7 separate regions of the Homo sapiens genome follow, and all the other regions are linked to region 3. Evidence: promoter capture Hi-C in human tissues and cell types (Jung and others, 2019). All regions are on one chromosome and are shown on one strand. The core of a region is centred on a gene start or on the middle of the fragment in contact, and the rest is flanking DNA. Distances in the headings are between cores, read along the strand shown.

Region 1 (3,078 bases), core at 114-2,613, 180 kb before region 3:
TCAGACCAACCTTCCCATTGAAAACAAATGCAAAAGCTGGATAAAGGCTTTTTAAAAAAAAAATCCTCCTCTCCCTCTCCCTCTCCCTCTCCCCACGGTCTCCCTCTCCCTCTCTTTCCACAGTCTCCCTCTCCCTCTCTTTCCACGGTCTCCCTCTGATGCCGAGCTGAAGCTGGACGGTGCTGCTGCCATCTCGGCTCACTGCAACCTCCCTGCCTGATTCTCCTGCCTCAGCCTGCCCAGTGCCTGCGATTGCAGGCGCGCGACGCCACGCCTGACTGGTTTTCGTATTTTTTTGGTGGAGACGGGGTTTCGCTGTGTTGGCCGGGCTGGTCTCCAGCTCCTAACCGCGAGTGATCCGCCAGCCTCGGCCTCCCGAGGTGCCGGGATTGCAGACGGAGTCTCGTTCACTCAGTGCTCAATGGTGCCCAGGCTGGAGTGCAGTGGCGTGATCTTGGCTCGCTACAACCTCCACCTCCCAGCAGCCTGCCTTGGCCTCCCAAAGTGCCGAGATTGCAGCCTCTGCCTGGCCGCCACCCCGTCTGGGAAGTGAGGAGCGTCTCCGCCTGGCCGCCCATCATCTGGGATGTGAGGAGCCCCTCTGCCTGGCTGCCCAGTCTGGAGAGTGAGGAGCGTCTCTGCCCGGCCGCCATCCCATCTAGGAAGTGAGGAGCGCCTCTTCCCGGCCGCCATCACATCTGGGAAGTGAGGAGCATCTCTGCCCGGCCACCCATGGTCTGAGAAGTGAGGAGACCCTCTGCCTGGCAACCGCCCCGTCTGAGAAGTGAGGAGTCCCTCCACCCGGCAGCCGCCCCGTCTGAGAAGTGAGGAGCCCCTCCGCCCAGCAGCCACCCCGTCTGGGAAGTGAGGAGCGTCTCTGCCCAGCAGCCACCTCGTCCGGGAGGGAGGTGGGGGGATCAGCCCCCCGCCCAGCCAGCCGCCCCGTCCGGGAAGTGAGGGGCGCCTCTGCCCGGCCGCCCCTACTGGGAAGTGAGGAGCCCCTCTGCCCGGCCAGCCGCTCCGTCCGGGAGGGAGGTGGGGGGGTCAGCCCCCCGCCCGGCCAGCCGCCCCGTCCGGGAGGTGAGGGGCGCCTCTGCCCGGCCGCCCCTACTGGGAAGTGAGGAGCCCCTCTGCCCGGCCAGCCGCCCCGTCCGGGAGGGAGGTGGGGGGGTCAGCCCCCTGCCCGGCCAGCCGCCCCGTCCGGGAGGGAGGTGGGGGGGTCAGCCCCCCGCCCGGCCAGCCGCCCCGTCTGGGACATGAGGGGCGCCTCTGCCCGGCCGCCCCTACTGGGAAGTGAGGAGTCCCTCTGCCCGGCCACCACCCCGTCCGGGAGGTGTACCCAACAGCTCATTGAGAACGGGCCATGATGACAATGGCAGTTTTGTGGAATAGAAAGGGGAAAGGTGGGGAAAAGACTGAGAAATCGGGTGGTTGCTGTGTCTGTGTAGAAAGAGGTAGACATGGGAGACTTTTCATTTTGTTCTGTACTAAGAAAAATTCTTCTGCCTTGGGATCCTGTTGATCTGTGACCTTACCCCCAACCCTGTGCTCTCTGAAACATGTGCTGTATCCACTCAGGGTTGAATGGATTAAGGGCGGTGCAAGATGTGCTTTGTTAAACAGATGCTTGAAGGCAGCATGCTCCTTAAGAGTCATCACCACTCCCTAATCTCAAGTACCCAGGGACACAAACACTGTGGAAGGCCGCAGGGTCCTCTGCCTAGGAAAACCAGAGACCTTTGTTCACTTGTTTTTCTGCTGACGTTCCCTCCACTATTGTCCTGTGACCCTGCCAAATCCCCCTCTGCGAGAAACACCCAAGAATGATCAATTAAAAAAAAAAAATCCTTAGCAATATTACAGATATTTGACAAGAGAGATGAATTTCCAGGCCAAAACTTAAAGGAAAGTGGGATCCCAGAGAGGCATTGGAAGACAGAGCAGAAGAAATTACCCAGAATGCAGAAAAGGGACAAAAAGAAGAGTTTGAGACACATGGAGGATACAATGAAAGAATCTAATATCGTTTAATCAGAATTCTAGAAGGAAAAAAAAAAAAAGAAGCCAGGCATGGTGGTGCATGCATACCTTTCATCCCACTATGTGAGTATTGCTTGAGCCAGGATTTTGAACCCAGCCTGGGCAAAACAGCAAGACCCCATTTTATTTTATTTAAAATACTTTTTTTTTAAAGGAAAGAACAAGAGAATGTGGCAAGGTGAAGATTTGAAAAGATAATGGCTGAGAATTTCCCAATTCTGATGGAGCATCAATCCACAAGTTCTGGAAGCGTGAAGAATTCTAAGCAGGATAAATAAAATAGAATCTACATGCAGATACATCACAATGAAATGTCAGAATTCTGAATACAGAAAGAAAAAAAATTTTATTTTGAGAGAAAGTCTCACTCCATCACCCAGGTTGGAGTGCAGTGGCGTGATCTCAGCTCATGATCTCAGCTCACTGCAACCTCTGCCTTCAGGTTCAAGAGATTCTCCTGCCTCAGCATCCCGAGTAGCTGGGATTACAGGTGCCCACCACCACATCCAGCTAATTTTTGTATTTTTAGTAGTCACGGGGTTTCACTGTGTTGGCCAGGCTGGTCTTGACTCCTGACCTCGAGTGATCTACCCACCATGGCCTCCCAAAGTGCTAGGTGGCATGAGCCACTGCGCCTGGCCTGAATATAGAAAGAAAATCTTAAGAGCAGCCTTCTCAACAACAGCAATAATGGAAGCCATAAGCCAGTAGAATGATATCTTGAACATACTGAAAGAAAATAACTTCCAACCTAGAATTCAAGAGTAAATGTTCTTTTCTTTTCTTTCTTTCTTTTTTATTTTGAGATGGAGTCTTTCTCTGTCACCCAAGCTGGAGTGCAATGACATGATCTCAGCTCACCGTAACCTCTGCCTCCCGGGTTCAAGTGGGGCAGCCTACTCCTGCCCCAGCCTCCCAAGTAGCTGGGATTACAGGCACCCACCACCACGCCCAGCTAATTTTTGTAGAGACGGAGTTTCACCATGTTGATCAGTCTGGTCTCGAACTCCTGACCCTCAGGTGATCCACCTGCCTCGG
Region 2 (2,843 bases), core at 325-2,824, 170 kb after region 3:
GTCTTGCCTTGTTGCCCAGGCTGGAGCACAGTGGTACAATCACCATTCACTGTAGCCTCGATCTCTCAAGCTCACGCAATCCTCCCTCCTCAGCATCCCAAGTAGCTGGGACTGCAGGCATGAACCACCAAGCCTGGCTAATTTTTGTAGAGATGAGATACAAAAGCCATGTTGCCCAGGCTTGAACCTTGAACTCTTGGGCTCAAGCAATATCCTGCTTGGCCTCCCAAAGTGCTGGGATTCTAGGTATAAGCCACTGTGCCTGGCCTCTTGTTTAGAGGTTTGAAACATGACCTCTTGACTTCCTATTTTAGTAAATCAGGTTAAGTTCAGCTCTATCCCACTTCCTACTTTTTTTTTTTTTTTTTGAGATGGAGTCTTGCTCTGTTGCCCAGGCTGGAGTGCCGTGGTGCAATCTCAGCTCACTGCAAGCTCCGTCTCCCGGGTTCACGCCATTCTCCTGCCTCAGCCTCCTCAGTAGCTGGGATTACAGGCGCCCGCCACCAAGCCCGGCTAATTTTTTTTGTATTTTTTAGTAGAGATGGGGTTTCACCGTGTTAGCCAGGATGGTCTCGATCTCCTGACCTCATGATCCGCCCGCCTCGGCCTCCCAAAGTGCTGAGATTACAGGCGTGAGCCACCGTGCCCGGCCTCTTTTTTTTTTTTTTTTTTTTTTAAGAGACAGGATCTCACTCTGTCACCCACATTGGAGTACAACAGCACAATCATAGCTCACTATAACCCTGAACTCCTTGGCTCAAGTGATCCTCTTGCCTCTGCCTCCCGAGTAGCTAAGACTACAAACACATGCCAGCACGCCAAGCTAATTTCAAAATTATTTTTTGTAGACACAGAGTCTAGCTATGTTGCCCAGGCTGGCCTTGAACTCCTAGCCCCAAGGGATCCTCCTGCCTTGACCTCTCAAAGTGCTGGGATTACAGGCATAAGCTATCACGCTTGGCCTTCTTATTAAAATATATTTGTCATTTCATCCTTTGGACTCATGATGTCACACTGGGCTCTAGTCATTCTCAGTCCTTGCAGAGATGGGGTGAAGATATTCCTTTTGAAAAGTAGTGCTACACACTGGGAAGGCTCCTGAAGGTATCTGTCTCTAGCCACACAGGTTCCATCCCCAATCCTTAAATGGAGAGGCATTCTTTCAGTTGGAGAGGCATTCTTTCAGTAGGACGGCCTCCTCACAGGCCCATTTGAGGGGCTGCAGGAAGTCATCTAGCACATCTTTCAGCCTGTAGTAAGACTGTCTTTAAGATATATTTAACCTCTGTTTCAAAGGCCCTTTGATATTATATTCTAAGGTATCATAACCATCACTCATATGTATCAATGCAAGCCCTAAATCCATCTTGTTGAGAAGCAGGTATATCCACAGAAACACAGCAAACAGTTCTTAATTTATTTAGACTGTGTTAATTATAAGATAATAGCAGCTAACATTATTCAGCACATCAGCTGCTACATTGCAAGCACTGTGCTGTGTTCCATCAAATATCTATTTAATTTCTTATAACATCCCTTGTAAGTTATGTTAACTTATACTATAAATGCCTAATAATATTTGCTACTATTGCTGTTAGGCAAATATTATTCCTTTTTTACTGAAGCAGAAACTGAACTTAAGTAATCTGCCCAACTTTACATGGTTGGTATGTGGTGAAGAGGAGGCTGATTCTAGAGCCCAGGCTGGGTGCAGCGGCTCAAATCTGTAATGCTAGCACTTTGGAAGGCCAAGGTGGAAGAATTGCTTGAGGCCAGTTTAAGACCAGCCTGGGCAACATAGCAAGACTCCATCTCTACAAAAAAAATATAAATAAATAAAAAATAAAAATTAAAATTAAAAAAAATTGGCCGGGGGTGGTGGTTCACGCCTGTAATCCCAGCACTTTGGGAGGCCGAGGTGGGCGGATCACGAGCTCAGAAGGTCAAGACCAACCTGGCTAACACAGTGAAACCCTGTCTCTACTAAAAATACAAAAAATTAGCCGGGCGTGGTGACGGGTGCCTGTAGTCCCGGCTACTTGAGAGGCTGAGGCAGGAGAATGGCATGAACCCGGGAGGCGGAGCTTGCAGTGAGCCGAGATCATGCCACTGCACTCCAGCCTGGGCGACAGAGCGAGACTCCGTCTCAAAAAAAAATAAATTAATTAATTTAAAAAATATATAGCCAGGTATGGTGGCACATGCCTGTGGTCCCAGCTATCAGGAGACTGAGGTGGGAGGATTGCTTGAGCCCAGAAGTTCGAGGCTGCAGTGAGCTGTGATTGTGACACTGCACTCTAGCTTGGGTAACAGAGATCCTATCTCTAAAAAGAGAAGAAATTAATACAGCCCAAGTACTGATCATAATAGTAAAATGAAGATGTGTTAAAGTATGAAGTCAACCCCTGCAGAGTCCCAGGATGTGCCTCTAGTTTTGCCCAACAAACTCATCAACACACGCTTAGAAATAAATCACAGTTGTTCCCAGAGGTATTCAGGGTTAAAACCCAGAGCCTCCGAGGACAGGAAATCCACTCCCAGGGGTTTTCTACCTTATTAATCCATTGACCTCATCCACAATGTGGCGCAGCTTGTAATAAGCATCAGTTGGAGGCAGCTTCAGCTCCAGGATCAGCCGGTCAATCTTGTTGATGCACACAGTGACTGCCAGCCTCTCCTGCACCGCATGCTTGATCAGCCGCTCTGTGTTCAGCATCACCTGAGAAAAACAAGGCTCAGAAGGTGGTAAGAAGAACAAGGAGGGCAGAAAGTTCAAAGCAGAACCAAAGAAGGCACTATTTCAAACCATGAAGCCTGGGGAGAAAAAAAGACCTCGGGAAATA
Region 3 (2,700 bases), core at 151-2,650:
ACCCGGGAGGCAAAGGTTGCAGTGAGCCAAGATTGCGCCACTGCACTCCAGCCTGGGCGACAGAGCGAGACTCCCTCTCAATAAAAAAATAAATAAATATAAAAACTATCACTCTGGTTGCTGAATGGAGAATGGATTATACTGGGGAGAGATAGGAAGCTACTCGGGAGTAGAAGTGAAGAATTGACCGCAGTACTTTAGGCAAGAAATGATAGCAGCTTGAACTAGGGTGGTGGTGGTCTGATTCCAGATGTACTTTGGAGGCAGAGTTAGTAGGATTTTTTTCTTGGAGTGGGGATGGGCACAAGGGAAAGTACTGAAAGACAACTTCTAGGTTTTTGGTTTGAGCAACTGGGTGAATGATTGTGACATTTGAGTAAACAGTAACATTTTACTGAGAGGGGAAGACCTGGGGGGAGAACAGGTGGTTTTTTGACAGGGGCAGCGAAACAAATGTTCTGTTTTGAATGTGTTCAGCCTGAGGTGCCTATTAGACATCCAAATTGAAATAGCCAGTAGGCACTTGAATATGTGAGTCTGGAGATCAGACAGGTCAGAGCTACAGAAAATCTGAAGGTGTGGCAGAGCTGAATTGTAAAGCTGTGGAGCTGGATGAGATCTCCTAGGGAGATAAGGGAGAGGGATAAGGGCTAAAGCGTTGGCATACTCCAAAATATATAGGTGAACAGTGGCTTTGGATCCAGCAAAGGGGACTGAGGAGGAACCATTGAGATAGGGAAAAAAACGGTAGAGTGCTGAGTCATGGAAGCAAAAAGAAGAAAGTATTTCAAAGAAGGAATAGTCCATCTATAAGTTGGATATGATAAGGATAGTATTTCAGACTGTGGAAATCACAGTTGACCTGGATAAGTACAGTTTTTGTGGGGAGGTCCCCAGCTCTCCACTGAATGATCTCTTATTAGATCAAATTTGATCTCTAATTAGCAGTCTAATTAGATGGGTTGAAGAAAAGATGGGAAGTGAGGGATAAAGATACGTCTTTTGAGAAGTTTTGTTGGGCAGGTAATAATTGAAGAACGGGAGGGGGACAAAAATGTGAAGATGAAATGATGTGTAAGTGAAATCTTTATGTAAACTGCAAATGCTCTGCAAGTGTTAGGCTTATTTTGTTATTTAGTATTCAAACTTCTAGGAATTTCAATGCAGCTCAGTGTGAAGAATCACTAAAAAGCGACCACTAGTCCTCAACTTGAGGGCCATTAAGGGGCAAAGCCGTCTAGCCAGTGAAGAGCCAAGAAATGAAGAGACGGTTTGAGAAGACGTAGGCGGTGGGGGAACGGAAAGAGGAATCGCGAAACTAATATTGTCCTTCCAAGGACACCGTAGGGCGGATCTCGCAGCTACGGCGTTCTTTTAGGGGTGGAGCCGGCAGGAAATTTAAACTGAAGCCGCGGCCGAAAACGCCAAGAGATTGATGCTGTAGCTGCCCTGAGATAACCAGGACTGTGGAATCGGGAAGAGCTCATGGAGCTCGCGAATGTAATACGGAGGCCTCTGAGGAAGGAGTACGGAGGCCGAGAAGGAGCCGGCATTTGATGAGCGAACCGGGAAAGGGTACGGATGCCGGGAAGGGGAGAAAGAAAGGCGGAAGGGGTCGTTAATAGCTGAGGCGAGGTGCGGAGTCGTGGAGGGGGCTTAGGAAGTGACCAGCGGGTAGGTGCCGAAGCTGAGGAGGGTATAGGGGCCGGGAAGGAGCCACAGGAGTTGAGGGGACCGAGGAATGAAGGTGGCAGAGGAACGTAGGGGACAACAGCCTGGAGGGATGTATGGAGATTGAGATGGACAGGAGGTGGCCAAGAGGTCACGGCCGTTGACTGAACGGAGTCTGAAAGGAGGCGGAGGGCATGAGGGGCAAGAGCCTGGCGGGAGTCGCGGGATGTAGGTCGGAATGGAGTTGAGTCTTGCTGTTCCCAGGAGTCGCGTTTCTGTGCGCGTTTTGGGAGACAGTAGTGGGCGGGAGGCATGGAAGTTCCAAGGGTTGGTGAAGATGGTTGAGTTGCTGTTATGTCCTTTCTCAGGAGACGATTGCCTCGAGCTGGAGAGTTCCATGGCTGAGAGTAGGCTCCGGGCCCCGGACCTAGGTGGGTAACAGGACAGAACTAGGGACGTGAGGTGAAAATTGCCCCAGGGTCTCTTGGAGAAGACCGAAAAATGTTCCCCCTGTTGGAGTTTTCGATCACTCAGTGTTTTTATGTACTTATTTATTCATTTTATTTATTGGGATGGGGTCTTGCTGTGTTGGCCAAGCTGGTCTCAAACTCCTGGCCTCAAGCAGTTCTCCTGCCTAGGCCTCCCAAAATGCTGGGATTACAGGTGTGAGCCACTTCACCAGGCCCACTTAGTGGTTTTATGTGTGTGTGTGTATGGACGCAGCATCATAGACCGTTTTGGGATTCATGATAAAGGTCAAGTAAGAGTCATATTATGAACAAGATTAACAGACAGATGTGGAGTCAGGATAGAGTGACTTATTAAATATATAAATTAATACATTCATAGTTGTTTACAATAAAATCCTTAAGTTAAACACTGCTACCTAATTAGGTAAGTATTTTAGCACATGGCACTTCCCTCCGTACTGCCCCTTTAGTTAATATCATCTAGTTGGCCGGGCGCGGCTGCTCACGCCTGTAATCCCAGCACTTTGGGAGGCCAAGGCGGGCGGATCACGAGGTCAGG
Region 4 (3,004 bases), core at 473-2,972, 170 kb before region 3:
CCAAGGCCAGAGCAAAACCAGCCGGAGACTGTCACCGTCCAAGGTATCACCCAGGGTTTCTCAATAGCACAGCTTGTCTTAGTGGCCACCTGCACTCTTCTCCTAAATCAGTGCTTGTGTGGAAACTTTAGGACCATGTGGGTCCCCTTCTCTCAGCTCCACACTGGGGTCCTTGAGAAGCAGAGGGCTGGCTGGAGGATAGGAAGGGTTGTCCCCTCCCCTCCCAGCAGAAAACCTCTGGGATGACACCTTCACTCTGAGAGGCAGCGGGATGACACGGATAGAATCGCTGGGCAAGTCAGTTCTTTCCCTCCTCCCTTTTCCTGCTAGAAGTCCACTTCTTCATCGAGAAATGTCTCCTCCGTTCCTTCCCCCCTCTATTTTGGGGGCCCCGGGGTCTAGCTCCCCATCCCTGTGTGTCGCTCCGGCTGGATCCCCATCCTCCCAGCCCCTCGGCCAAGTGGAGGATGCTGATCTGACTGCCTCCTGCCAGACACCTAGGGCCTCCTGCTCCCAGAGGGTCTTGGCCAAGGGGCTCTGGCGCTGGGCCGGTGCCTTTCTCACTGCCCGGCTCCCTCCTCACAGGCCCCTAATCCATCTCACCCAGCAGGAAGCCCTTAAGCTGCCTTTTCAGCCGCCTTCCCCAGCCCGCTGTGGGCTCTGTGCCTTTCTATACCACCCTTGGCAGGAGCTGTGTTATACAAGCTGGAGAGAGAGGCCCCTGCAAAGAGGTCATCGTGCCTAAGGCGGCTTCCAGCTCCAGCAGCCTCTCCTCCCTGGTCCCCTCCCCAGGGTTCCCCCACTGGTACACTGCCTGGCATCCCTGGGCACTGACAGCCCTGGCTGACTCACATCAAAGCCCCAGACTGGGTCCAGGTGAGAGGAGGGATGCTAGGGGGACAGTGGGCAGAAGGCCAGGGTCTGGGGAAGTGTGGCAGGCATGAGGGGCTCCTCTGGCTCTGTGCCATCTGTCCTTTTGGCTGGTGTCTCCATCTTCCCTCTGCTTCCAACCCCTGCCCTCAACTCCCCAAAGCCCATTCACAGGTTTCTTAGACTCAGTTATGCAGCCCAGACAGGGCTGGGAGAGCGTGTGCCCTGGAGGCCACCTCAACTGAATGTTTCAGACAGGAAGAGAGAGAGGCCAAGGGGGTGGGGGTGGGGGCAGGGGCGCCAACAGTTTCTTTCTGTCTTCCTAGGTTGTATTTGGATTTGGGCAATTGCTTGTCACTCTTGGGGCACAGACCTCATAGCTTGGATCATTCTGGGGCAGGCTTAATTTCACACCCCCAATTTCATAGCCCCTGCAAGTATACTCTCGCTGGTTCTGATGATTTTTGGTTTGGAAAATGGTTCTTTTTTTTTTTAGATGGAGTCTCGCTCTGTCGCCCAGGCTGGAGTGCAGTGGCATGATCTCGGCTCACTGCAACTTCTGCCTCCTGGGTTCAAGTGATTCTTGTGCCTCAGCCTCCCAAACAGCTGGAACTACAGGCACCTGTCACCACACCTGGCTAATTTTGTATTTTCAGTAGAGACGGGGTTTCACCATGTTGGCCAGGCTGGTCTCAAACTCCTAGCCTCAAGTGATCTGCTCACCTTGGCCTCCCAAAGTGCTGAGCCACCGTGCCCTGCCTGGAAAATGGTTCTTGTATGACCTGGTCCTTATCTTGACCTCAACCTTTCCCTCCCCTCTCTCTCCAGGAAAAAATATCCCCCCACCGCCCCTACCTAGGCCCCTTCTCCAAGGCCCAAACCCCAGTCCTGCCTCCACTCCAGGAAGCCAGCCTTTTGCTGGCTAGAAGTGGTTAGAGAAGAGTTGGGGGTGCCTCTGGGAGGTCTGTTTGTAGTTCAGATTCTTCTCATTCCAGGCTCAGCAGGCTCTCTCTAAGGGAAGGGCCTGGGATGGGGGGCGGGGATCCTTGGGGCACCAGCTGCAGGGAAGGAAAGCTTCCCGGGGAGAGGAGGGAAGTGTTTTTCTTCCCTTCCTAGTGACCCCCATCCACAAGGTAGGAACTGCCTCTCCTGGTTCCATCATTGGAGTCCCCCCCACAAGCTGCCCCAGCATTCAGGCTCCTCCCAAGGGGCCTGACAGGAGCTATGGAGAGCTGCGGCCCTGATCTCTTTCTTCACTTCTGAATGAGTCCATTTCTACCCTTTTGGGACCCTTAGAGATGTTTGGAAGAGTTTGGAGGAGGGGCACTAAGGTATGCACAACCAGATGCTTGCAGAGTGACTGGGTCAGCCCCAGCTTCAAAGAGGCTATATCAGTCTATCCCCAAAACTGAAGTCCCTTGTAGATTTTTTCTTTCTTTAACCAGTATTCACATATTTGTCCCTCTAGACTACCAACCCTTAGGCCTCGAGATTCCTCAAGGATTAATCAGTGATCCAGTCACGGGAGAAAGCAACCAACCCCCAGGGTCTTAGAAGTCTGACACCTGCCCCAACTCCCCAGCAAACTTCCTTCTCCAGCTGCCTCTGCCTGAGAGCAGGAAAAACCAACACTAAAGGCTTATATTGAGCATCCACTATGTGAAGTCACTTACCACTTCATCTTATCTTCCCCACCCTTCAAGAGAAGATTAGTGTCCCTATCTTATCGATGAAGAGTCAGAGCTTCAGAAAGGGAGAGTGACCTATCTCAGGGAATGCAGTGAGGAAGCAGAGCTGAATCCATTGAGTCCAAGTCCAGGACAGTGGTCTGCCTAGCATGCTGCCTCGTGACTAGGTCTGCCCTAGGTGCCTGTGTCCAGGCTCCCAGGCTGACCTCTGGCTAATATTCTGCTTCTGGGTTACAAAGCAGCATGTACCATCTGAGCTTCCTTTCCCAAAGCAACTGTCCCTACAAATCCAGTTTCTCTTTCAGTCCTCACTTCACAGGGAACAGGACAGACTTATTGTGCCCATTCTTCAGATGGAGAAACTGATACTCAGAGAAAAGATTCACTGAAGGTCAGAAAAGTATTAAGCACCAAGACCAGGACACGAGCATTCAGGTGTCCTACGT
Region 5 (2,957 bases), core at 396-2,895, 190 kb after region 3:
TCTACTAAAAATACAAAAATTAGCTGGGTACGGTGGCTCACACCTGTAATCCCAGCTACTCAGGAGGCTGATATAGGAGAATCCCTTGAACCCAGGGGGTGGAGGTTGCAGTGAGGCGAGATGGCACCACTGCACTCCAGCCTGGGAGACAGAACAAGACTCCATCTCAAAAAAAAAAAAAAAAAAAAAGTTTCACTGGAAAACAGCCATGCATATTCATTTGCATCATTTACAGTTGCCTTCACACTGTAATAGCAGAGTTGAATAGTTGAGACTGAAACCATATGGCTCACAAAGCCTAAAATATTATCCAGTCCTTAATAGAAAAAGTTTGCCAACCTCTCCCTCACCATGTGTAATTCCTACAAACAAGAACATTCTCCTACATAACCACAATACAACCATCAAAATCAGAAAATTGATATTCACACATTACTACCACCTTCTTTACAGATCCCATTCAAGTTTCACAGATTGTTCCAATAATACCTTACACACCTAAGGATCCAATCCAGGATCATGTTTGCATTTGGTTGTCATGTCTCTAGTCTCTTTGGATCTACAATCTTCAGTCTTTGGATCTACAATCTTCAGTCTTTCCTTCCAAGGACTGTCATGAAATCCTTAAGGATGTCCCTTGATTTGAGGTTGTCTGATGTTACCTTATGATAATATTCAGGTTATGCGTTTTGGGCAGGAATATCATAGAAGTGATGCTGTGTTCTTCTCAATGCATTTCGTATCAGGTGATACATGATTTCAATTTGCCCCATTAGTGGTAACGTTAACTTTGATCACTTCATTAAGGTGATGTTTGCCAGGCCTCTCCATTGTAAAGTTACTCATTTTCCCTTTGTAATTAAGTAGTGTTTTGTGGGTTTTCTCCACTTCAATTACTGAAATTCTATTCAAAGAAACAGTTCAAATGCCACCACCTCCTTCAAGCTTTCCTAGCTCCTCAATTTCTCATTCCTCTATCCTACTAGAGCTTTTTGCACCTTTATCAGTATTTAATTTTGTCTTAAATAGTAGTTAACTGGCTGGGCACAGTGGCTCATGCCTGTAATCCCAGCACTTTGGCAGGCCAAGATGGGCGGATCATGAGGTCAGGAGATAGAGACCATCCTGGCTAACACAGTGAAACCCCGTCTCTACTAAAAATACAAAAAATTAGCCAGGTGTGGTGGCACACACCTGTAGTCCCAGCTACTCAGCAGGCTGAGGCAGGAGAATCACTTGAATCCAGGAGGCAGAGGTTGCAGTGAGCTGAGATCGCACCACTGCACTTCAGCCTGGCTGACAGAGTGAGACTCCGTCTCGAAAAAAATAAACAAAATAAATAAACAAATAGTAGTTACTAATTACCATCACCAACTATAGTTTATAAGCAATAAATAACAGACTAGAGCATCAGGGCTCTGGAGTTGGAAGACTTAGATTCAAATCCCAACTTTGTCACCAACAACTATGTAACTTGAGGTAAGTTACTTCATCTCTTCCAACCTGATTCCTATTCTTCAACTGGAAAATGGAATGAATAATCCTCACTGAATAAATGGTTATGAGGATTAAATAAAACACCCTGTGTAAAGAATTTACCAGAGTCCAGCTGGGTGCAGTGGCTCACGCCTGTAATCCCAGCACTTTGGGAGGCTGAGGTGGGTGGATCACGAGGTCAGGAGATCGAGACCATCCTGGCTAACACGGTGAAACCCTGTCTCTACTAAAAATACAAAAAATTAGCCAAGTGTGGTGGTGGGCGCCCGTAGTCCCAGCTACTGGGGAGGCTGAGGCAGGAGAATGGTGTGAACCCAGGAGGCGGAGCTTGCAGTGAGCGGAGACAGCGCCACTGCACTCCAGCCTGGGTGACAGAGAGAGACTCCGTCTCAAAAAAAAAAAAAAAAAAAAAGAATTTACCAGAGTCCTAGGCTCAATAAACGTTAGCTAGCATTATTTTTTGCCATCCTTGATCATGAGAACCCTGTGTTCCATGCACCTGCTTCTTCTCTTCACTTCTTTTATGATACTAAATTTAATTTTAAAATAATACCAAAAAGTGGCAAGAACAGTACAAATAACTTTCTTTTCCCCAAATATTTGACAGTATGCTGCTGACACAATGCCTCTTCACCTCCTAATACTTTAGAGCAAGAGTTGACAAACTCTGACCTGTGGCCAAATCTGGCCCCTCCAACTGTTTTTGCATGGTCCTCCAGCTAAGAATGCATTTTACATTTTTATTTTTTTATTTTTTTGAGACGGAGTCCCGCTCTGTTGCCTAGGCTGGAGTGCAGTGGCACGATCTCGACTCACTGCAACCTCCGCCTCACAGGTTCAAGCGATTCTCCTGCCTCAACCTCCCAAGTAGCTGGGATTACAGGCACCCGCCATCACACTTGGCTAATTTTTGTATTTTTAGTAGAGACGGGGTTTCAACCATGTTGGCCAGGCAGTCTCGAACTCTTGACCTCAGGTGATTAGCCCACCTCGGCCTCCCAAAGTGCTGAGATTACAGGTGTGAGCCACCGCACCCGGCCACATTTTACATTTTTAAATAATTGAGAAAAAAGTACCAATGCTAACACAGCCAATAGCCAAGACAGCACCTTGCATAAGTAGGAACTGGATAAATGTTAACTGAATGGGATGTTTAATTTTAAGATGCTGATATTTCTTGGATTAGACTGATACCTCCAACTCCCTCAATGCCACCTGCTGGGTGCTGAATGTAGAGAGAGAATTGGAGCTCCAAGGACCAATAATTAAATGTAAATTATTATGGAAACTTTCACATGCATATTCTTTTTACTTCTAAAAAGCTACTATCGCATTTATGCTTATCTCATTCTCCCAAGACCCCAGTCAAGGGATTGAAGAAATTATTTATTTATTTTATATATATTTTTTGAGACAGAGTTTTGCTCTTGTTGCCCAGGCTGGAGTACAACGGCACGATC
Region 6 (2,945 bases), core at 362-2,861, 240 kb before region 3:
ACAGGTATGTCCATGACTGGATGAATACTAATTCTATACTGAATTTTGTTTTAGTTGACAGCCACATTCAATTTACATCATTTAGCCCATTTTCAACAGTGACAAAATAGTAAGTCTCTTGAGTGGATTGTAAGCTTTGCTGATTGTGTATTAAAGACTATAAGCAAGAACCAATGCTACTAGGTGAACCCATGCAAACAAGTTGTAAAAATTCCCGAAACAAAAAAACTCTATAGCTCACTACAGATGACACAATGAAGACTAGAGAGAAAAGCCATATAGTAATGCTACACCATTCAGCTCCAAGAAGCACATTATTTCTAGTGCAGTCCACATATGGTCACTGCTAAATGTCAAATCAGCAGTCTTATAAAGAATTACAGTTTGGAACTAGTGGAGTCCACAGATCTAGACAGATATGCAACATCACAAAACCCAATTATACATATACTTCCAAATCCTTAAGATGCGCAAACTAAACATCAGCAACTGGAGTTTGAAGCTTACACTACATTTTTAAACCTATTAGGTCATCCTGACAACCATAAAGAAAGAATTTTAATCAGTCAGGTAGAGCAAGGACCGACTAGCGGCTGATGGGTAGTTGCACTTCCAACCACAACAGTAACAACATGTTTTAAGTCTATGATGCATGCATTCTGCCTTCTATATAGCTTAAAGTCATTCTCCCATCTGATCCCTCATCTTTTTTTGTTTGTTTGTTTTTGGAGATCGAGTCTCGCTCTGTCACCCAGGCTGGAGTGCAGTGGCACGATCTTGGGTTCAAGCGATTCTCCTGCCTCAGCCTCCTGAGTAGCTGGGACTACAGGCGTGTGCCACCACACCCGGCTAAGTTTTGTATTTTTAGTAGACATGGGGTTTCACCGTGTTAGCCAGAATGGTCTATCTCCTGACCCTGTGATCCACCCACCTCGGCCTCCCAAAGTGCTGGGATTATAGGTGTGAGCCACTGCACCCAGCGCTTTTTTTTTTTTTTTTTTTTGAGACGGAGTCTCGCTCTGTCACCCAGGCTGGAGTACAGTGGCGTGATCTCGACTCACTGCAACCTCTGCCTCCCAGGTTCAAGCAATCCTCCTGCCTCAGCCTCCTGAGTAGCTGGGTAATCCCAGCACATGCACAGGCATGTGCCACCACGTCTGGCTACTTTTTGTATTTTTAGTAGAGACAGGGTTTCACCATGTTGGTCAGGCTGTTCTCGAACTCCTGACCTCGTCATCTGCCCGCCTCAGCATCCCAAAGTGCTGGGATTACAGGCGTGAGCCCCTGCGCCCAATTCCTCATCTTCTAACTATGATAAAGGTCATAAAGGACCGTGTATCCTAAAAAACACCAATTAATTCTTCTGTGATTGAATCCTAGACGGAGCTATGGCTTTAGATCAAGCTTTGTTTTGTAAATATTTTGTCTTTAAGTAAGTGGAGGTTATAATTATAACATTTGAGACCTAAATATCTCATAAAGCAATAACAATTTTTAAAATTCAAATTCAAAGCTTCTCGTAATAGGGATAAAATGTTCACACTTTTCAACTTGTTTTTAATAGAGATAATCAAGTTGTTTAGCAATTCTCATATAATTTTCTTAAAAAGATATTTCATTCTTGAGGAAAAATCTCATTGAAAGATATCTGGTTGGTTGAAGCAAATAAGGGAAAATTAAACTTCAAAAAATATTATTAAATGCTTTACAAATACTGGATTTTGATATATTTTCAACATTTACCTAATAAAATTGAAATACCAATATCTCACTAACAAATCTAAGCTTCGGAAGTTCACTAAAAGCATAATACATTATTGCATCTTCATGTCTCATTTCCCATCTTGCTGGTTTGCATCAAATTTAGCCTACTACAAAATAAAAAGACCTTAATCCTATACTCACAATAACCCTTCACACAGGCATATTCTTGGCACAAACCTGTGCAGAGACCTCCACGGTTACCAGCTGCTGCAGATTACCTTTGGTTAAAAAAAAATGACTAGACCTTTAGCTCCTGCAATGATCTGTAGACTCCCAAAGCTGCATATTTTCAGCCACTTTTGAGTTGCATGCTGTAGCAAAACAGTCAGCACCTCTCAATAGATATTGCTGCAGAGAAAGATTTTAATTCAGCACTCTTTCTGTGTTAGAAGTAACACCATTTTCCCCTAAAAACAAAACAGCTTAATATAGCCAGCCAGCCATGTAATTAAATATTTACTTATTATTTAGTGGGCATTCCTCAGGTGATAAGGGACTTCTTTTGTTTGGTGGGAGGGAGGGAACACTACCTACTTTGATGCCAATCACTGTAGGAGTTTCTCTTAAAACTTAAAATTTTCTGTGACCAAAAAAAGTAAAAAAAAAAAAAAAAAGTTGAAAAAAGAGAAAAACACTTAAAATTTTACTCACAAATGATCAGGCAACAGAAATAAGATCCCTCTTATCTTGTGTGTCAATACTTCTTTTTTTTTTTCTTATTTTTTCTTGCATCTTTGTTTATTCTCCCAGATCCTGTGCCCTACTTCTACCTAATACAATGTAGGCCATGAAGTTCTCTCCTACAACCTAAACTATCTCATCACAAATAATGCATATATTTATCTTTCAGAAGTAAATTTTCATTAGAAGTGTAATTACTAATATACATTTCTGAACATTCATTTATTTAAAAAAATTAAATATCCAGCCTGAGTACTATATACTATTTGCTATTTTAAGTGAAGAAGGTAGCACTACTTAATAAATAAGGCATATTATCAATTCTACTCCCACTGAATGAGATTATTCAACAATGATTACTCAATTAGACTGCCTTCTGATACTGTTCTCGCTATATGTGGCAGAAAAAGTCCTGGACATTATGAGAGGTAAAATAGCATTAGCCTCATGTGCCATAGGAATGAAATTTCCAAAAATATTTCAGTGTAGCCCTCTAGGCT
Region 7 (2,890 bases), core at 216-2,715, 140 kb before region 3:
TGGTACCACTCACTGCAGTAGTAGCTGTGAGCACTTGTGGCATTTTTCTAACCTCTGAGCGTGTGTCCTCATCTATAAAAAGGCTGATAGTACCTGTCTGGTAACATGAGTAGTAGACGGGACCATACATCTACAGAGCCCTCAGGCAGTAGTTCAATAAATTGTAGCACTTTTCCAATTACTTAGAATACATTTATTTATTTATTTATTTTGAGACGGAGTCTGGCTCTGTCGCCCAGGCTGGAGTGCGGTGGCGCGATCTCGGCTCACTGCAAGCTCCGCCTCCCGGGTTCACGCCATTCTCCTGCCTCAGCCTCTGGAGTAGCTGGGACTACAGGCGCCCGCCACCACGCCTGGCTAGTTTTTTTTGTTTTGTTTTGTATTTTTAGTAGAGATGTGGTTTCCCCGGGTTAGCCAGGATGGTCTCGATCTCCTGACCTCGTGATCCGCCCGCCTTGGCCTCCCAAAGTGCTGGGATTACAGGTGTGAGCCACCGCGCCTGGCCCCCACTTAGAATACATTTCCAAAAATAAAATCAGTGGATCAAAAGATCTAATTTCTTGACAAGAGAAGTGTTACCAATAGTTTTTAAACTGTTCCCTATCATTTAAAAGGACCACAGTCTTCCCTTCCCAGCACTTCCCTATCATTTCCTCCGTGTGAAGAGGTACATCTAACTGCCCTTAGAATATGGACGATGACTGGTCTTAGCTGCTTCATGCTGATAGGGGGCATTGTTTTGGGGAAAACAGCAGTCAGACTCCTCCTAGAGGTCTATCTAAGGGTTCCTAGGAAAGGGGAGCCATCATCCGAGGCTCCGATTGCCTGACCGTTTGCAGTTTGGTGGCTTCTAGGCGCAAGAGAATAAAACAAGTTTTATAAGGTTAAGTGTGCATAAATTAAACGTGTATTATACAAGGAAAGAATTTAGTGCCAAAGATTCCAGAGACAAGAAGTAAAATATACTAACAACATTGTACCCTGAGCTGTAAGAAATTAAACCTTATATAGGAGCAGTTCAACTTGAGAAGAGATAACTGTTCTTGCCATATCTTTTAGCAGTTAACAGGTGCACCCTGGGAATTCTGGGATTTGTGGACTTGCACGATGGCCATTAAAGCTTTTGCCTCTTTCCTGTATCTCCTCTCTCTTTCCTGGGCCTCCCAGTCTCTATTATAAAAGACCAAGGTGGCTACTTTCAGGAGTTTCTTCAAAGTACTATCTGGTCCCGGGGCCTGTTTTTGTATCTTCCTTCTGATGTCAGGAGCTGCCCAAGTAATAAATTGATCCTTTAGAATTAGTTGTCCCTCTACTGAATCAGGAGATAGAGAGAGGTGCTTTACCAAGCTCCCTCTTAGCCTCTCCAGGAAGGCAGTGGGATTTTCATCAAATCCCTGGTCAATCATGGACAATTTAGTATAATTGAGGGGCTTGGTCCTAGTTCAATGGTATTGAAATGAATGGTCCCTTCCTGAGGCCACGCCAGTCCTTCCTATAAATCATAATTTGGCCAAACCTTTGTGCAGAGGGCTATGAGGTGCTTTTCCTTCAGATGCTGAGGGTCAAAGCAATCCCAATGGTTCAGAATACATTATACTCCAGAAGAGTATAAGCTGGGGGTGGTGAAGAGAACTGGTTGCCCATTCTGAAAGACAGGGAAAAAAGGCGTCCCCTACTCCCTTCCTTCTTTCAGCGAATACTCAGAGTGTGATGGAGAGAGAAAGCGAGTATCCTCCCTGCACCCTCCACCTCTTGTCCCTGAGCCCTGGTGACCTTGTCAGGTGCCAGCCATGGGTACCAATGCGGTATGTACCCATGAAGCAGGGAAAACCTGGAGAATAGGAATTAACTGCTCTCATCTACACCTCCCTTTCTCCCTCCCTTTCTTCCTGCTGTCAGCAAACTGAGTTCCCTGGGCCTGTTTGTGCCATGGAACATGGCCTCCTTCTATGTGGTGGGGGGTTCACTCGTCAGGAATTGGTTCTGCCCATTTACATTGTGCCTGTTGCCTGGCTTTGGATCCCTCGGACCTGGTTTTTCTCTCTAGGGCCTCAGCCTGAAGCCTGGAATCGAATTTGGGATTGAAAAGTTGGTTTAGAGGCTGTTTGTATCTGTTCAGAGTGTCTCAGATGTGCCCTGCTGAATTTGCAGTTCTCAGCCAGCAGGGGTCGCTCCTCCGTTAACTTCCCTATCAGAAACTACTGGGATGGGGGAGCCCTCTCACTTAGAAAAGGAAAAAAAGAAAAACAGTTAAAAGGCCAAAAAGAGGAGGATTCTGGGAGAAGAACCCCTTGCTTACTGCAAGTGGGCCCCCCTAATCCTTATATCTTTCCTCTAGTTCAGACCGTGTTGAATTCTTTGGCCAGGGGAGGAAAGGTTTTATTGGCGCAGCCGGCAAGAAGCGCCCATCCGTTTGCCCTGTTTGGCTACCACCACGGCTTTCTCCCGCCCACTCTTGGCTGTTGGGCTTGGCCTTTGCCTGCTGCGGGCACGCATGGGCGCCTGAGCTGGGAGGGGAAAGGGTGAAGAAAGGTGCCCTGAGCCATGCCTGTGGCTGTCAAGGTAAAGGTGTACATGGCACCTCTAGGAAAAGTTGGTCTGATTGGCACATTTCAAACCGTGTGAGAGCGGCTGGGTGCGCTGGCTCACGCCTATGATCCCAGCACTTTGGGAGGCCGAGGCGGGCGGATCACAAGGTCAGGGGTTGGAGACCAGCCTGACCAACATGGTGAAACCCAGTCTCTACTAACAATACAAAAATTAGCCGGGCGTGGTGGCGCTTGCCTGTAATCCCAGCTACTCAGGAGGCTGAGGCAGGAGAATCGTTTGAACCTGGGAAGCGGAGGTTGCAGTGAGCCAAGATCGCACCACCGCACTCCAGCCTGGGTGA

Evidence for each region. The method cuts DNA at HindIII sites, captures the fragments that hold promoters and counts their contacts. A contact is called where the count stands out against the background at its distance.
Region 1: a contact is called between a fragment that was not itself captured here and the fragment with the promoter of DBF4B in region 3, in 1 of the 25 tissues and cell types used here (H1 embryonic stem cells).
Region 2: a contact is called between a fragment that was not itself captured here and the fragment with the promoter of DBF4B in region 3, in 1 of the 25 tissues and cell types used here (mesenchymal stem cells).
Region 4: a contact is called between a fragment that was not itself captured here and the fragment with the promoter of DBF4B in region 3, in 5 of the 25 tissues and cell types used here (H1 embryonic stem cells, IMR-90 fibroblasts, lymphoblastoid cells and 2 more).
Region 5: a contact is called between a fragment that was not itself captured here and the fragment with the promoter of DBF4B in region 3, in 1 of the 25 tissues and cell types used here (mesenchymal stem cells).
Region 6: a contact is called between a fragment that was not itself captured here and the fragment with the promoter of DBF4B in region 3, in 3 of the 25 tissues and cell types used here (dorsolateral prefrontal cortex, mesenchymal stem cells and mesendoderm cells).
Region 7: a contact is called between a fragment that was not itself captured here and the fragment with the promoter of DBF4B in region 3, in 3 of the 25 tissues and cell types used here (H1 embryonic stem cells, IMR-90 fibroblasts and aorta).

The regions. Positions count from the first base shown.
Region 1 is chr17:44,523,910-44,526,987 of GRCh38, forward strand. No RefSeq gene overlaps it. Among named protein-coding and RNA genes, the nearest start is that of GPATCH8, 22 kb to the left of the region's middle. The HindIII fragment of the contact is 9,334 bases long and covers 1-3,078 here.
Region 2 is chr17:44,873,382-44,876,224 of GRCh38, forward strand. It overlaps EFTUD2 (elongation factor Tu GTP binding domain containing 2), which reads right to left. Exons shown (of 28, transcript NM_004247.4): 10 at 2,553-2,719. Among named protein-coding and RNA genes, the nearest start is that of EFTUD2, 25 kb to the right of the region's middle. The HindIII fragment of the contact is 8,659 bases long and covers 1-2,843 here.
Region 3 is chr17:44,707,265-44,709,964 of GRCh38, forward strand. It overlaps DBF4B (DBF4B-CDC7 kinase regulatory subunit), which reads left to right and starts at 1,401. Exons shown (of 14, transcript NM_145663.3): 1 at 1,401-1,575; 2 at 2,040-2,102. The coding sequence starts at 1,557. RefSeq lists enhancers at 1,207-1,721, 1,722-2,235. The HindIII fragment of the contact is 13,873 bases long and covers 1-2,700 here.
Region 4 is chr17:44,541,426-44,544,429 of GRCh38, forward strand. No RefSeq gene overlaps it. Among named protein-coding and RNA genes, the nearest start is that of FZD2, 15 kb to the right of the region's middle. The HindIII fragment of the contact is 8,168 bases long and covers 1-3,004 here.
Region 5 is chr17:44,895,328-44,898,284 of GRCh38, forward strand. All of the region lies in intron 1 of EFTUD2 (elongation factor Tu GTP binding domain containing 2), which reads right to left. Among named protein-coding and RNA genes, the nearest start is that of EFTUD2, 2.6 kb to the right of the region's middle. The HindIII fragment of the contact is 4,028 bases long and covers 1-2,957 here.
Region 6 is chr17:44,469,512-44,472,456 of GRCh38, forward strand. All of the region lies in intron 2 of GPATCH8 (G-patch domain containing 8), which reads right to left. Among named protein-coding and RNA genes, the nearest start is that of GPATCH8, 32 kb to the right of the region's middle. The HindIII fragment of the contact is 3,729 bases long and covers 1-2,945 here.
Region 7 is chr17:44,563,888-44,566,777 of GRCh38, forward strand. No RefSeq gene overlaps it. Among named protein-coding and RNA genes, the nearest start is that of FZD2, 7.8 kb to the left of the region's middle. The HindIII fragment of the contact is 3,399 bases long and covers 1-2,890 here.